5 separate regions of the Homo sapiens genome follow, and regions 2, 3, 4 and 5 are each linked to region 1. Evidence: promoter capture Hi-C in 16 types of primary human blood cells and fetal thymus (Javierre and others, 2016). All regions are on one chromosome and are shown on one strand. Each heading gives the region's core, a stretch centred on a gene start or on the middle of the fragment in contact. The rest is flanking DNA. Distances are from core to core; before and after follow the strand shown. Region 1 holds the start of PID1 (phosphotyrosine interaction domain containing 1). Region 2 overlaps DAW1 (dynein assembly factor with WD repeats 1). Region 3 overlaps DAW1 (dynein assembly factor with WD repeats 1). Region 4 overlaps DAW1 (dynein assembly factor with WD repeats 1). Region 5 overlaps SPHKAP (SPHK1 interactor, AKAP domain containing).

Evidence for each region. The method cuts DNA at HindIII sites, captures the fragments that hold promoters and counts their contacts. A CHiCAGO score of 5 or more calls a contact.
Region 2: a fragment that was not itself captured here is called in contact with the fragment with the promoter of PID1 in region 1 in 1 of 17 cell types (M2 macrophages); the score reaches 17.4 in M2 macrophages.
Region 3: a contact is called between a fragment that was not itself captured here and the fragment with the promoter of PID1 in region 1, in 5 of 17 cell types (M2 macrophages, endothelial precursors, M0 macrophages and 2 more). The highest score is 17.8, in M2 macrophages.
Region 4: a contact is called between a fragment that was not itself captured here and the fragment with the promoter of PID1 in region 1, in 2 of 17 cell types (M2 macrophages and endothelial precursors). The highest score is 8.9, in M2 macrophages.
Region 5: a fragment that was not itself captured here is called in contact with the fragment with the promoter of PID1 in region 1 in 1 of 17 cell types (endothelial precursors); the score reaches 9.6 in endothelial precursors.

The regions. Positions count from the first base shown.
Region 1 is chr2:229,269,899-229,272,601 of GRCh38, forward strand. It overlaps PID1 (phosphotyrosine interaction domain containing 1), which reads right to left and starts at 1,389. Exons shown (of 3, transcript NM_001100818.2): 1 at 1,116-1,389. The coding sequence starts at 1,145. The HindIII fragment of the contact is 3,085 bases long and covers 671-2,703 here.
Region 2 is chr2:227,876,102-227,878,804 of GRCh38, forward strand. All of the region lies in intron 1 of DAW1 (dynein assembly factor with WD repeats 1), which reads left to right. Among named protein-coding and RNA genes, the nearest start is that of DAW1, 5.8 kb to the left of the region's middle. The HindIII fragment of the contact is 4,250 bases long and covers 1-2,703 here.
Region 3 is chr2:227,897,390-227,900,092 of GRCh38, forward strand. It overlaps DAW1 (dynein assembly factor with WD repeats 1), which reads left to right. Exons shown (of 13, transcript NM_178821.3): 6 at 793-892. Among named protein-coding and RNA genes, the nearest start is that of DAW1, 27 kb to the left of the region's middle. The HindIII fragment of the contact is 2,988 bases long and covers 1-2,703 here.
Region 4 is chr2:227,924,193-227,926,895 of GRCh38, forward strand. It overlaps DAW1 (dynein assembly factor with WD repeats 1), which reads left to right. Exons shown (of 13, transcript NM_178821.3): 13 at 1-152. Among named protein-coding and RNA genes, the nearest start is that of DAW1, 54 kb to the left of the region's middle. The HindIII fragment of the contact is 1,243 bases long and covers 742-1,984 here.
Region 5 is chr2:228,043,813-228,046,515 of GRCh38, forward strand. The region is part of intron 3 of SPHKAP (SPHK1 interactor, AKAP domain containing); the gene reads right to left. Among named protein-coding and RNA genes, the nearest start is that of SPHKAP, 140 kb to the right of the region's middle. The HindIII fragment of the contact is 2,724 bases long and covers 1-2,703 here.

The DNA of each region.
Region 1 (2,703 bases), core at 139-2,638:
GAGCTGTGGGGCATCTGTTTCTGCTAAATGCAATGCCCTCTGCGGGTTGTTCCTCTGTATGAGGACTCCTAGACAAAGGTTAGCCTCTCCCTGCATCTGAGAAACTGTGCTTGGGGCTGTAAATGTTCATTGAGAAGCCTCCAACCTAGCCAGGGCCTGGCCTCATTGTCCTAAGTCTTCAGATGCACTCAGCCTCCAATGGTGCTGTATTTTACCAGTTAAACACGTCTTCAAAGTTTACTACGAAACAATGTGGCTCCTAGCTTGCCAAAAGTTTAACTGCAGGATTCAGTGGATTTTATCTGGCAGAGTAGCTGCCGTGACTCTTGACAATATTTGCCAGCAAAAGGCAGTCCTCAAACCTTGCAACCAGGGCAATCCCAAGGCCCAACGTGTCACTGAAGGAGTTCTTCTGGGAAAGGTCCCTCTTTCTCTTCAATCGCCTCCCGCAAATCCCCAGCTTCCAGAATCCAATTCAAGGCAGTCTGGCATTTCAGGAGACAGCAGTAAAAAACTTTTGATGGGATAACCCAGGACATAAATATTCCTGGCTGAACCTACTTTTGATTCTTAAATATCTGAAGGAGCTTGGGTTTAAGGAAGATAAAGGGAGAGAACCAATGAATAGGGAAAAATAAAATAAGTAGCATACCATGACCAAGCCAAACCAAGCTTGATATTTCCACATTATATTGGCAAATGGATGCTTTCACATATCACTTGTTCTGTCTTTCCTGGTGACCACAAAAAAAAAAAAAAAAAAAAAAAAATCTGGCTTCAAAAATCCTAACCCCAGACCACTGCATTGTGTCAGTGGAATGCAATCTAAATTGCCAGTCAGAAAGTCCAACCTTATATGTACCAACCAACACGCACACAAGCACCTCCAAGCCAAAAGTTGTAACGCCTGAACCCGTGCGTTTATCAATTTCATCATCCCCATACCCCTGCCGGGTTCCTGGCGCTGGGTAAACCGACAGCATCATGTTGCCATCGATGCGTCTTACAAGATGGTTTTGGGCAAATCCCCTAAAGTAGGCAGAAGCAAAAACTAGGTTCCTCTGCCCGGGCACCTCCTCCTCCAGGCTGGCCCCCGGCTCCCGGGTGCCCCTTACCTGCAGGCGCTCCGTGGCCGGCTGCCACATCTTCCAGCCCTGGGTTTTGGCAGAGGAGACGCTGGCGAGACTGTCGATCGCGCCGGGGGGCGAGGGGCTGGGGTCCCGCTTTACATCTGGGGTCGGTGTCCGCGGGATGTGCGTCCTGGCGCTGGCCACCGCCGCCGGGTGGGCGTAGGGGGCTGCGAGCAGGAGGAGGCGCGGCGCTCAGCTGCCGGCAACTTGTGGGCACGGCCGCGCGCCGGCTGTCCTGGCGCAGCTGCGAGAGGACTGCGCAGCTCCGCCCGGGCCCGGCGAGCGCGCGGCGGCGGCGGGGGCGGCCGCTCCCTCCTCCCCCGCCGCCGCCGCCCGGACCTGCGCGCTCTGAGCATGCCCGGGGCGGGCGCCCAGGGGCCGCGCGGGGCGGGAGTGCAGCGCGGCCGACTCTAAATCCTAGTGAGGGGTGAATGGGGAGGCTAGAACAGCCGGCCCTTCCCTGCAGGAAGCCCCCATTGGGTTGGGGTCTGGGAAAAGGGACAGACTGGCTGAGGGGGGAAGGGCCTGGAGCCGGGGGTGGTGGGGGCAGCGGGGATGTCGGGGGTGGCGGGGGTGGGGGAAATTCCTAAAATAAGGAAACCGTAGCCCCGGGGGTCCCGGGTTTCCATATAACAGGCATCTCTGAAGTGCCTGTGCTGTGCCTGGCGCTGTGCTAGGGAGACACTTCCATTCATTCTTCCCACTCCAGTTAACTGAGCATCTATTAGGCTCCAGCCCCTATGCTGGGTTCTGAGGATGCAGCGACGCAGAATAGAAGACAAGAGAATGTTCCTTCTCTCTGGAGCTTACCTTCTGCTTTGGAGAGAGAGTCGTGACTGAGCAAACACATCAACAAGCCGGTGCTATATCGGGTGGTGATAAAACAGGGCAGATGTGGGAAGAAGGGGAGAGGAGAGCTTCTTAGACAAGGGCCCTGGGGAATGCCTGGAGTAAGACCTGAGAGATGAGAGGGATTGGCCACGAAGAGGCCATGCTTCATGATGGGGAGAGGACTCGACTCCTAACCTATACAGGGGTGAGGAGGGCCATGCAGACTCCCGAATCACTAACTCATCCTGAGATCTGCCAGGTGCAGCAGGAGGCTCTCAGAACCCAAGGGAAAGCCGCTCTGGGCTCGCAGGCCTGGAGGCTCCCCGGCTAGTGCCGGCCACCATGAGATGACTTCCTGTCCTAAACAGGCCAGCCCTTCCCATTCTCTTGACAACTCGGCAAAATAACTATTAATATTTTCACCATGTGGATCAAACAAATGAGGCTTATAAGGTTTAGGTCACTTGTCCAGGTCACACAGCCAGTGAGTGGCTTAGAGAGTGCACAGTCAGATGACTTCAGGGCAGGAGATGTGGCCCTGCGCCTCTAACTGACCATGGAAACCCAGTGGAAAGAGCATCCGTCTAGGGCTGGGGGTTAAAGGCACTTGGCAAGTCAGGGATACTAAGCTGATTCTCGAGCTGATGAAGAGTGGGAGAGGAGAACATGGTGGGAAGAACTCAGGACATAGAATGACCAAAGAGAGGAGCAGAGAGAACACAATGTTTGTGGGGAGCCCTAG
Region 2 (2,703 bases), core at 53-2,552, 1.4 Mb before region 1:
GCCTCCTGGGTTCATGCCATTCTCCTGCCTCAGCCTCCTGAGTAGCTGGGACTACAGGCGCCCGCCAGTACGCCAGGCTAATTAATTTTTTTGTATTTTTAGTAGAGACGGGGTTTCACCGTGTTAGCCAGGATGGTCTTGATCTCCTGACCTCGTGATCCACCCGCCTTGGCCTCCCAAAGTGCTGGGATGACAGGCGTGAGCCACTGTGCCCGGCCAAGCCTAGGATTCTTAGGCTCACGTAATTCTCTTGACTCATGTTTGCGACTATTGCCTTAATGCTTATCTTATAATGAGGTCATATTACTTAGCATGCTTGACATTTAATTTCTGAATTCCAGTCTTTGGTGAGCCAAATCATATGCAAGTTTCCAAGATACTACTGAATAGCAGGTGGGTGTTTCAATAATAGCATTATCAGATAGGAAAAATTATTCCACTGAATCATTCCCGTGCTACCTTTATCCCTTCTGCATATAGAGCAGTTTTGTTTTGCCTCCTAATCCTCTAATTTTCGCCCTCCCACTTTCTTTTGAATAACGTATAGGTCAGGGGCATTGTCTTGCTGCTATCTACTGAATTATCCCTCTCCCTACCTACATTCCCAAAGGCTAAATGTACATGCCAGTGACATGGCTAACCAAACATGGGACATTCCTTTTCATCTTGGTCACATTTATTAATTCATAAGCTCTTTGCTTTGGGGAGAGTGGGTGTTGACTATGTGCTTTTCAGCTAACTCAGTTATGACAATTTTTGTATTTCATTTATTGTGTGAAGTCCATAGTTCTCAGACCAGGAGAAGGAATTAAGTCAACATTAACTAAACTAGTTAACATTCTGAGCATTTTAAAGGTTTCTGTTGATTGAATATATAATCTAAGTAAAGAATACTAATATCATTTGAAGCATGCCCTTTTAATATACTGAAAAATTTGAGGAATAGAGGCTTCTTACCTAAGTGTTTTGGGAATTATATTTATTGAATAATGCACAATCAAGGGAAAATCAAGATTATTAAGATACTGTGGGAAACAGTCACTGAAGAAAAGCATGTATTTCTGGCAGCATCTTTGTTTATTTATTTTTATTTTTGAGACATAGTTTTGCTCTGTCAGCCAGGCTGGAGTACAGTGGCACAATCTTGGCTTACTGCAACCTCTGCCTCTGTCTCCCGAGTAGCTGAGATTACAGGCATGTGCCATCACACCCAACTAATTTTAGTATTTTTAGTAGATATGTGGTTTTACCATGTTGGCCAGGCTGGTCTCAAACTTCTGAACTCAAGTGAGGCACTTGCCTTGGCCTCCAAAAGTGCTGGGATTATAGGCGTGAGCCACTGCTCCCGGACTCTTTGTTTTCTGCTTTTATTCTTCATGGCACATATCACAGCCTTTTGCTCATATTGGAGCTCAGTAATCATGAGAGGGATGAACATATTGCCTAGATCAATGTTACACAACCTTTTTGGCACCAGGGACTGGTTTCATGGAAGACAATTTTTCCACAGACCAGGGGGATGGTTTTGGGATGAAACTGTTCCACCTGTGATCATCAGGCATTAGTTAGATTTGCGTAAAGAGTGTGCAGCCTAGATCCCTTGTATGCACAGTTCACCATAGGGTTCCTGCTGCTATGGAAATCTAATGCTGCTGCTGCTGATCTGACAGGAGGCTGAATGAGCTCAGGCAGTAATGCTCACTTGCCCGCCACTCACCTCCTGCTGTGTGGCCTGGGCCCTAACGGCCACAGACTGGTACTGGTCCAGGGCCCAGTGGGGTCGGGGGACCCCTGGCCTAGAGGTTTTGTCACAGCGAAGCAGTCAAACGTACATGTTTCAATTTTGTAGTGTATTCTCCAGATCCATTTGTACAGCATCCCCACCAATTTTTAGTAGTCAGCTTGAAGACTTCGAACCTTTTTACTTTATTACAAACAAGTAGTGAATAAAGAAAGCAGACTTTTGTTAACTTATTTGCTAAAATGTTAAAAATGCATTTCCTTAGGGTATTAGATCATACTCTGTGGACTGCCAAGTGCTAATTCTTTCCAACCTTTCTCTGAGTTACAGATTATTATTTTATTGCTTATTCATTGTGTACATCATTTATTTACTCAAGCATTTATTTCCTCAATAATAAATAGCACATAGTAAATACCCTCATATATAATGCAAAAAATCTAAAATTATAGTACAGAAAGAAACACTCCCTTGATGATAGTGACACCTTGCATTGATACAGAACTTGTATGTTTAAAGTATGTATCTTTCTTGAATTTTCAAATAGCTTTTTAGGGATCTTGATCTTCAAGGGTTTATATTCTGATAATGTTGATCAACTGGGCATGGTGGTGCCTGCCTTTAATCCCAGCACTTTGAGAGGCTGAGGCAGGAGGATGGCTTGAGCCCAGGAGTTGAAGACCAGCCTGAGAAACATAGTGAAATCTTGTTTCTACAAAAAATTAAAAAATTAGCTGGGCATAGCGGCATGGGCCTATAGTCCTAGCTACTCAAGAAAATGAGGCAGAAGAATGGCATGGGTTCCTAGGAGTTCGAGACTACAGTGAGTGATGATTGTACAACTGCACTGCAGCCTGGGTAACAGAGCAAGACTCTGTCTCTAACAAAATGAAGAAGAAAATATGTCGATCCCTATCATTTTTTTCTATTTTCTTGTTTTTCTCTTACTTTTTAAATTTAAA
Region 3 (2,703 bases), core at 79-2,578, 1.4 Mb before region 1:
ATTTCTAGTCTGCTTTAGGATATATGTGTTGGGTTGTGAGATCTCTTACACTTTGGGAAATTGAGCTTGTACTGTAAATGATAATCCAATTGGGTGAACATCTTGAAGAGCTGGTGTAAAAGACAGTTGTAAGCCAGGGTTAAAAGAAAGGTTTTAGTTCCAAGATCAAAGGCCAAACAGGGTAATCTACTCTTGCTTGTTGGTTGTTGATGTTAGCTCTGCCCCGCAGTCAATATGAGAAGCCTCTTAGTTGAAAGTGACTGAAGTCTTTGTATTTCCTTTCTAAACCCTCTTACAACTGGAATAATATAGGCATTATTTCCTTAAGAGGACAAGCACCGTCTAAATTCTCAAAACCTTATTAACCATATTTTTAATGGGATTTATCTTTTTTCATTTCTCTTTTATATTCAATGTTATTCTTTTCCATATACTTATTAACATAATTTTTCTATGTTTACACAGTTCATACTATACATTATTTATTTTAATTTGTAAGTAATTTTCTAAACTAAACCTTTTGCTACATTCATTAAACTCATTTTAAAAATTATTATAATCCCAAACAAATATACCTATAACTTTAATATAAAACCTTTAAAATTAAATGTGTAAATCGATACCACTCAAAAATTAGACTTTTATTTTATTATCCACTGAAACAAATTTAAGATTGCTTATAGCTTTAGAAGTGAAGTAAATTTTTTACTCATGTATTAATATCTCATCTTAGTTCAGTTTATTATATAATGTGTCTTTTTTTAAATAATCTACATTTCTTTTAAATCTTAGTGACAAAATCGCCACTGGGTCCTTTGATAAAACTTGTAAACTCTGGAGTGTGGAAACAGGAAAATGTTACCATACCTTCAGGGGTCATACAGCAGAAATAGTGAGTATATTTAACAATTTATTATTATTTTATGTATATATATATATTATTTTCTTTGAGATGGAGTCTCACTCTGTCACCCAGGCTGGAGTGCAGTGGCACAATCTTGGCTCACTGCAAGCTCCGCCTCCTGGGTTCATGCCATTCTCCTGCCTCAGCCTCCCGAGTAGCTGGGACTACGGGCGCCCGCCACCACGCCCCGCTAATTTTTTGTATTTTTAGTAGAGATGGGGTTTCACTGTATTAGCCAGGATGGTCTCAATCTCTTGACCTCGTGATCCACCCGCCTCGGCCTCCCAAAGTGCTGGGATTACAGGCGGGACCCACTGCACCTGGCCTTATTATTATATTTTATGTTGCTGTTTCTTTTTAGGATTCTATTATAAAAGTAGTGGGGCTACTTTTATAATTAATTTTCAAATTCTACCCCATGTTTTTAGTCTGCCTATATTTATATGGTGGTACCAATACAATTTAAAAATTACTCTAGTTAATATCTTGCAGATTCTGTAAAGAACTGTATCCTACATTGACTAAGTAGACACGTAATATGATAAATTTATAAATATAATAACCAATCTTACTTTTTAATTGGCTTTTCTTTAAAGTACTGACTCAATGAGGGTCAATTAAGTTATGAAAACAGTTTTTAAAATAATTTTTAAACTACTATGTGAAATATTTAAATATTTAGGCTGATTGTTTTCTGTATATCATTAGAGCTCAAATTTGCCTAAATAGTCTGATACTCGAAACAGCTTTCACTATTGGGAAGCCCTTGTCCTTGACCAATTCTGAGACATATCTGATAACAATTAGTGCAATAATTGGCATTCCATAAGAACAGATGATAGCTCTTAAAAATAAACAGGCTGCTGCTCCTAATGATTAGTAATACCTTAAATCTTTTTAATCAAAGATTTAAATAAGGAAAAATTGATCTGATTTTAACAAATCCCCAAGTTATGTTTTGGTCTGTTAATGGGGATCACACCTTTCCCTCCATTTCTGGCCTTCATTAGGTAGAATGATTCTTTAGATATTTAACTCACTAACTTTGTTGTACTTTGAAGTTACTCTTAAGTGGATAATACCAAAAGAGAATCCACAAATAGAAGGTACTCACTTTACCAATGCAGTAGTAGTATAAAAATAATAGAGACTTTTGAGGGTCAAAGAGAGAAAAGGCTAAAGCAGGAAACAAAATATAACCACCTCTCCTGTAACTGTCAGTAGGGAAATATAGCTCAGTACTTTTTGAATTGAACAGAGACATAAAAAGAATGTGCTAATAACTATTAGTAGATGAAGAGAGGAAATTGATAACAAAGAGTGACAGGTCTTTTAACCTCAATATTCACTGGAAAAAAAGATACCTGCTGTGAACCAGAAAGAGCAAACAAGAACATACAGGGGTGGAGGGAGGAAAAGCAAGCCACAGTGGCGACAGCTTTTGTGAATAGTCGGTGACAGCCGATCTGCCAGCAGTGTTCAAGTGCTAGCACCCACACCCACCCCTGGAACTTAGGAACAAGATACCTAGAACAGACTGTGAAATGCTTGGAAATATGTCTTGAGGATAAGGAAAGTACCTGGAGATGGGAAAGGGTCCTGTATTCTGCTTATTTATGTACACCTTAAAACAGGAACAAAAACAAGCTGCTTATTTTAGAAGTAAAATTTATTTACACTCATCCTAAAAATTCATGGTATATTCATCCATAAAGAACTCATGCTATGTTGAAGTTACTTTGCTAGTGACTGGAAATACTGCAGTGAAACATAACTGACCCTTTGACAGCACTTGCTGT
Region 4 (2,703 bases), core at 113-2,612, 1.3 Mb before region 1:
GGCTAATGCCACCAGTTATTTCAGTTGTGTTTGTTTTTTAAAAGCATTATGATACTGAAAAAGGAGACCAGAACAACTTAACAACGTGTCTCCTGGATTTTACTTTGAAGCCTATTGTTATAATTTCTGTTGAATAAAGTGTTTGGAGGAAATTCCTTGTACATGTGTATTTATGATGTATGTTTTTAGGGTGAAGTAAGGGAAATAATGCGGATCTCATTTAATGGCAAATATCTTCTGTATTGATACATTGAGAAAAATGTTGGCAGGTTTATTTCTAAGGAAAAGTTAAACAGAATATTCAGACTATTGCATTTAAAAATCTGGGTGGGGCCGGGCGCCGTGGCTCACACCTGTAATCCCAGTGCCTTGGGAGGCAGAGGCAGGTGGATCACTTGAGGTCAGGAGTTTGAGACCAGCCTGGCCAACAGGGTGAAGCCCCATCTCTACCAAAAATACAGAAAAAAAAAATCAGGCGGGCGTGGTGGTGGGGGCCTGTAGTCCCAGCTACTCGGGAGGCTGGGGCAGGAGAATCGCATGAACCCAGGAGGTGGAGGTTGCAGTGAGCCGAGATCACGCCACTACACTCCAGGCTGGGTGACAGAGGGAGACTCCATCTCACACATACACTAAATAAATAAATAAATAAATAAAATCTGGGTGGAAAACGATTGAAGTATGAGAGAAAATGATCAAATACCAACCTGAATACTGCTGAAATATTTTAAAATGTTTTTTAAAAGCTTGGTTTGTGTAAAAGTACCCAAATGCATATTAAAATTAATGTTAAAAGTACAAGCACTAATAAGGCCTGAATCTGAAGCAAGAGAATGCCTGAAAATCTTATGAAATCATTTTTTAAAAAGAGCTTCATTGATATGTAATCAATATATAAAATATTGCATATATTTAATGTATACATCTTCATGAGTTTGAACATAGATGATGCCATCATCAAAATCAAGGTACTAAATATACTCATCATCTTCAACCATTTCCTTGTGTTGTTTTGTGGTTTTTGTTGTTTCCTGGTACAAGCTCTTTAAATGAGCTCTATCCTTTGAGCATATTTCAAGGTGTATAATACTTCATTGTCAACTATAGGTACTGTGGTGTACAGCAGATCCCCAGAATGTGTTCTAGAACTCATTTTCTTAATAATGTGAATAATACCAATATGGCTAAGTGCTTACCATGTGCCAGTAATGCCCAACCACTTTACGTAGAACATCTCATTTAATCTTCCTAACAACTGTTACAAAGTAGATACAAGCCCTGATTTAAAAATGAGGAAAGTGAGTCCCTGAGAAGTTAAGTAATTTGCCAAGGGCATCTGGATATTAGGTGGTGATGTTGGTTTTAGAAACCAGGGATGCTGGCTCCATTACACTGTGTTCTTAAGTAGAAAAGATTTAATATGGGAGAGGAGAGTCAGATGTATAGGTAGGATGAATTGAAGTGAGAATTACTTCTTGGGTTATCTATAGATGTTAACCCTCAAGAAGAAAAAAATAAAACAAACACAGGCCGGGTGTGCTGGCTCACACCTGTAATCCCAGCACTTTGCAAGGCCGAAGTCAGAAGATTCCTTGAGCCCAGGAGTTCAAGACCAGCCTGGGAAGCATAGTGAGACCCCATCTCTACAAAAAATTTAAAAATTAGCCAGGTTTGATTGTGCAGGCCTGTAGTTCCAGCTACTTGGGAGGCTGAGGTAGGAGGATTGCTTGAGCCTGGGAGGTTGAGGCTACAGTGAGTTGTGATTACACCACTGCACTCTGGCTTGGGCAACAGAGTGACACCCTGCCTCAAAAAAAATTAATAAAGGAAAAAAAATTAAGTAAACAAACACACAAAAAAATAAACCAAACCTTTGTTGGGACTGTTGGGAAGAGGAGGTTCCAATATGATGAAGCCAAGAACTTAGATTGGAGAAAACTTTGCCAAAATTTGGCTGCTTCTTTTTTTTCTAAAAGCAAACCTCTTAAGCTTTATTAGTTTTTTCAGCTTTATTGAGGTATAACTGACACATAAAAATTGTATTATTCAAGGTATACAATGTGATATTTTGATATCACAAAATGAAATAATTACCACAGTCAAACTGCTAATTAACAAATCCATCACCTCACACAGTTACCTTTTCCCCCCTGTGGAGAGAATACTTAAGATCTATTCTAGCAAATTTCAAATATGCTTTATTTTTAACTGTAGTCATCAAGCTGTACATTAGATCTCTGAAACTAATTCATCTTGAAACTGCAAGTTTGTACCCTTTGACAAACCTCTCCCCATTTTCCCCACTCCTTGACCCCCGGTAACCACTCTTCTAGTCCGTTTCTACTGAGTTTTACTTTTAAAAATTCCATATGTGAGATAATATGGTATTTGTCTTTCTTTGTTGGGCTTATTTCACTTTGTCCTCTAGGTCATCCATGTTTTTGCAAATGAAAGAATTTTCTTCTTTGTCCAGGCTAAATGATATTACATATATCTTTATACAGGCATACCTCGTTTAATTGCAATTCACTTTATTGCACTTCTCAGATATTACATGTTTTAAACAAATTTAAGGTTTGTGATAACCCTGCCTGGGGCAAGTCTGTCAGTGCCATTTTTTCCGATAGCCTGTGCTCACTTTGTGTCCCTGTGTCACTTTTTGGTAACTCTCACAATGTTTCAAACTGTTGTATCTGTTATGGTGAT
Region 5 (2,703 bases), core at 111-2,610, 1.2 Mb before region 1:
CTTCCATTAAAGACTTTTTTCACCTTTAAAGTAATAAAACATAATAACATCTAGTGGTTGCTTTCTCCCTTTTCTGAAAGTCATACACATTTGCACAGAGAAAATATGAAAAAAGAAAAGGTAGAAAGTCATGTTTGTAATCTGAACAGCTCAATTATTTTAGAATAGATAAAAGATAATTTATATACTTAGAATCATGGTGAATAAGTGATAGTGAACTTAATTTAAAAATACAAATAGTTTATCTAAACCAAACATCTAACATTCATCTCTCATATGTTTGACAACCAAACTACTAAATAACTCCAAACTTAACCTCTCCAAGAAGCCTCAGGTATAATTGAGCAAACACTTTGTACATCTTTAATAATTAAGCATGCTGCAATCTCATTGGTATAGGTAAAATTTATTAAAAATCCCAACAACTCAAAGCAATGACTAAAGGCACAACTTGAGTGACTCTACATAGGGAAGTAGAAAAATATTTAGAGGATTTAGTCCTAAAATATAGTTGCAAATGCAGGAGAGGTGCTTCTTTTTTTAACGGAATTATCCAGATTGAATATCTATATTAATAAAAGACATCAAGTGGTTCTTAGTTTCACGGGTACTCTAAGAACCACTCTATTTGGCCTGCTCCAGGTCTGCATATGAAAACTTTAGCCCAAGGCATGTATCTGAATTACTATCCCTATAGATTGGATGCTTTAGGAACTCATTAATTTAAATCTTCTAACAGACTGCCAAGTGTTGAGAGGTAACTCACTTTTCAAAAAAAATGACCATTAAATTCAAGCCTTTGAAAAATGGAATTCTGCAAACTATAGTTGACACATAATGAATAAATACATAGAAAAAGTAATTGGAGAAAAACAAAACAAAATACAAGAGGGAACATCTATTACAGTGAGTAGGATAACAACTAGTTTTTCATATTTGTTTCCTTTGACAATGATGCTAATTAGTTACTAAAATAGAATCTGGAGAGTGAACAGGCAATCTACAGAATGGGAGAAAATTTTGGCAACCTACTTATCTGACAAAGGGCTAATATCCAAAATCTACAATGAACTCAAACAAATTTACAAGAAAATAACAAACAACCCCATCAAAAAGTGGGCAAAGGATATGAACAGACACTTCTCAAAAGAAGACATTTATGCAGCCAAAAAACACATGAAAAAATGCTCATCATCACTGGCCATCAGAGAAATGCAAATCAAAACCACGATGAGATACCATCTCACACCAGTTAGAATGGCAATCATTAAAAAGTCAGGAAACAACAGGTGCTGGAGAGGATGTGGAGAAATAGGAACACTTTTACACTGTTGGTGGGACTGTAAACTAGTTCAACCATTGTGGAAGGCAGTGTGGCGATTCCTCAGGGATCTAGAACTAGAAATACCATTTGACCCAGCCATCCCATTACTGGGTATATACCCAAAGGATTATAAATCATGCTGCTATAAAGACACATGCACACGTATGTTTATTGCAGCACTATTCACTATAGCAAAGACTTGGAACCAACACAAATGTCCAACAATGATAGACTGGATTAAGAAAATGTGGCACATGTACACCATGGAATACTATGCAGCCATAAAAAATGAAGAGTTCATGTCCTTTGTAGGGACATGGATGAAGCTGGAAACCATCATTCTCAGCAAACTATCGCAAGGACAAAAAACCAAACACCACATGTTCTCACTCATAGGTGGGAATTGAACAATGAGAACACATGGACACACGAAGGGGAACATCACACAGCGGGGACTGTTGCGGGATTGGGGGAGCGGGGAGGGATAGCATTAGGAGATATACCTAATGCTAAATGACGAGTTAATGGGTGCAGCACACCAGCATGGCACATATATACATATGTAACAAACCTGCACATTGTGCACACGTACCCTAAAACTTAAAGTATAATAATAATAAAAAAAAGAAAAAAAATAGAATCTGGAGGACATTATGCTAGATGAAATAAGCCAGGCACGAAAAGATAAGTACTGTATTAACTCATTTATACGTGAAATCTAAAAAAGCCAAACTCACAGAAGCAGAGAGTAGAATGGTGATTGCATGGGGCTGGGGGATGAGAAAAATGGGGAGAAATTGGTCAAAGGGAATAAACTTTCAGTTTTAAGATGAATCAGTTCTGGAGATCTAATGTACAGCATGGTGACTATACTTAATTGTACTATATTGTTTACTTGAATTTTGATAAAGAGCAGATTTTAACTGCCTTCATCCCACCCCCTACACACACACACACATACGGTAATTATGGGTGGTGATGGCTGTGATAATTAGATTACAGTAATCAGTACACAATGTATACATAGGTCAAATCAAGGTGTATACCCTGAATATATGCAATTTTTGTTTGTTCATTAAATATTTCAAAGTAAACTAAAACAATAAAAATCCGTGTTTCAAAACATTTTCTGCATGCTGAATACTGTTGTTATTCTTTTTTTTTTTTTTTTTTTTTGGTCTCTGTTGGTAAAAACGATGTATATCCTGATTTCTGTGTTCTTCATCTAATTTACTCCCTTGAACTTCACTTGTTTTAGGCAATGACTTTTAGGAAAATGGCCTTTACGATGCAAGCAGTAGCTTAAGCGAGCTCAGGGTGCTAAGTTGTGGTGAATAAATTTTGCACTTAAATTCCAGTTGTGGAACCAAGTATTAAAA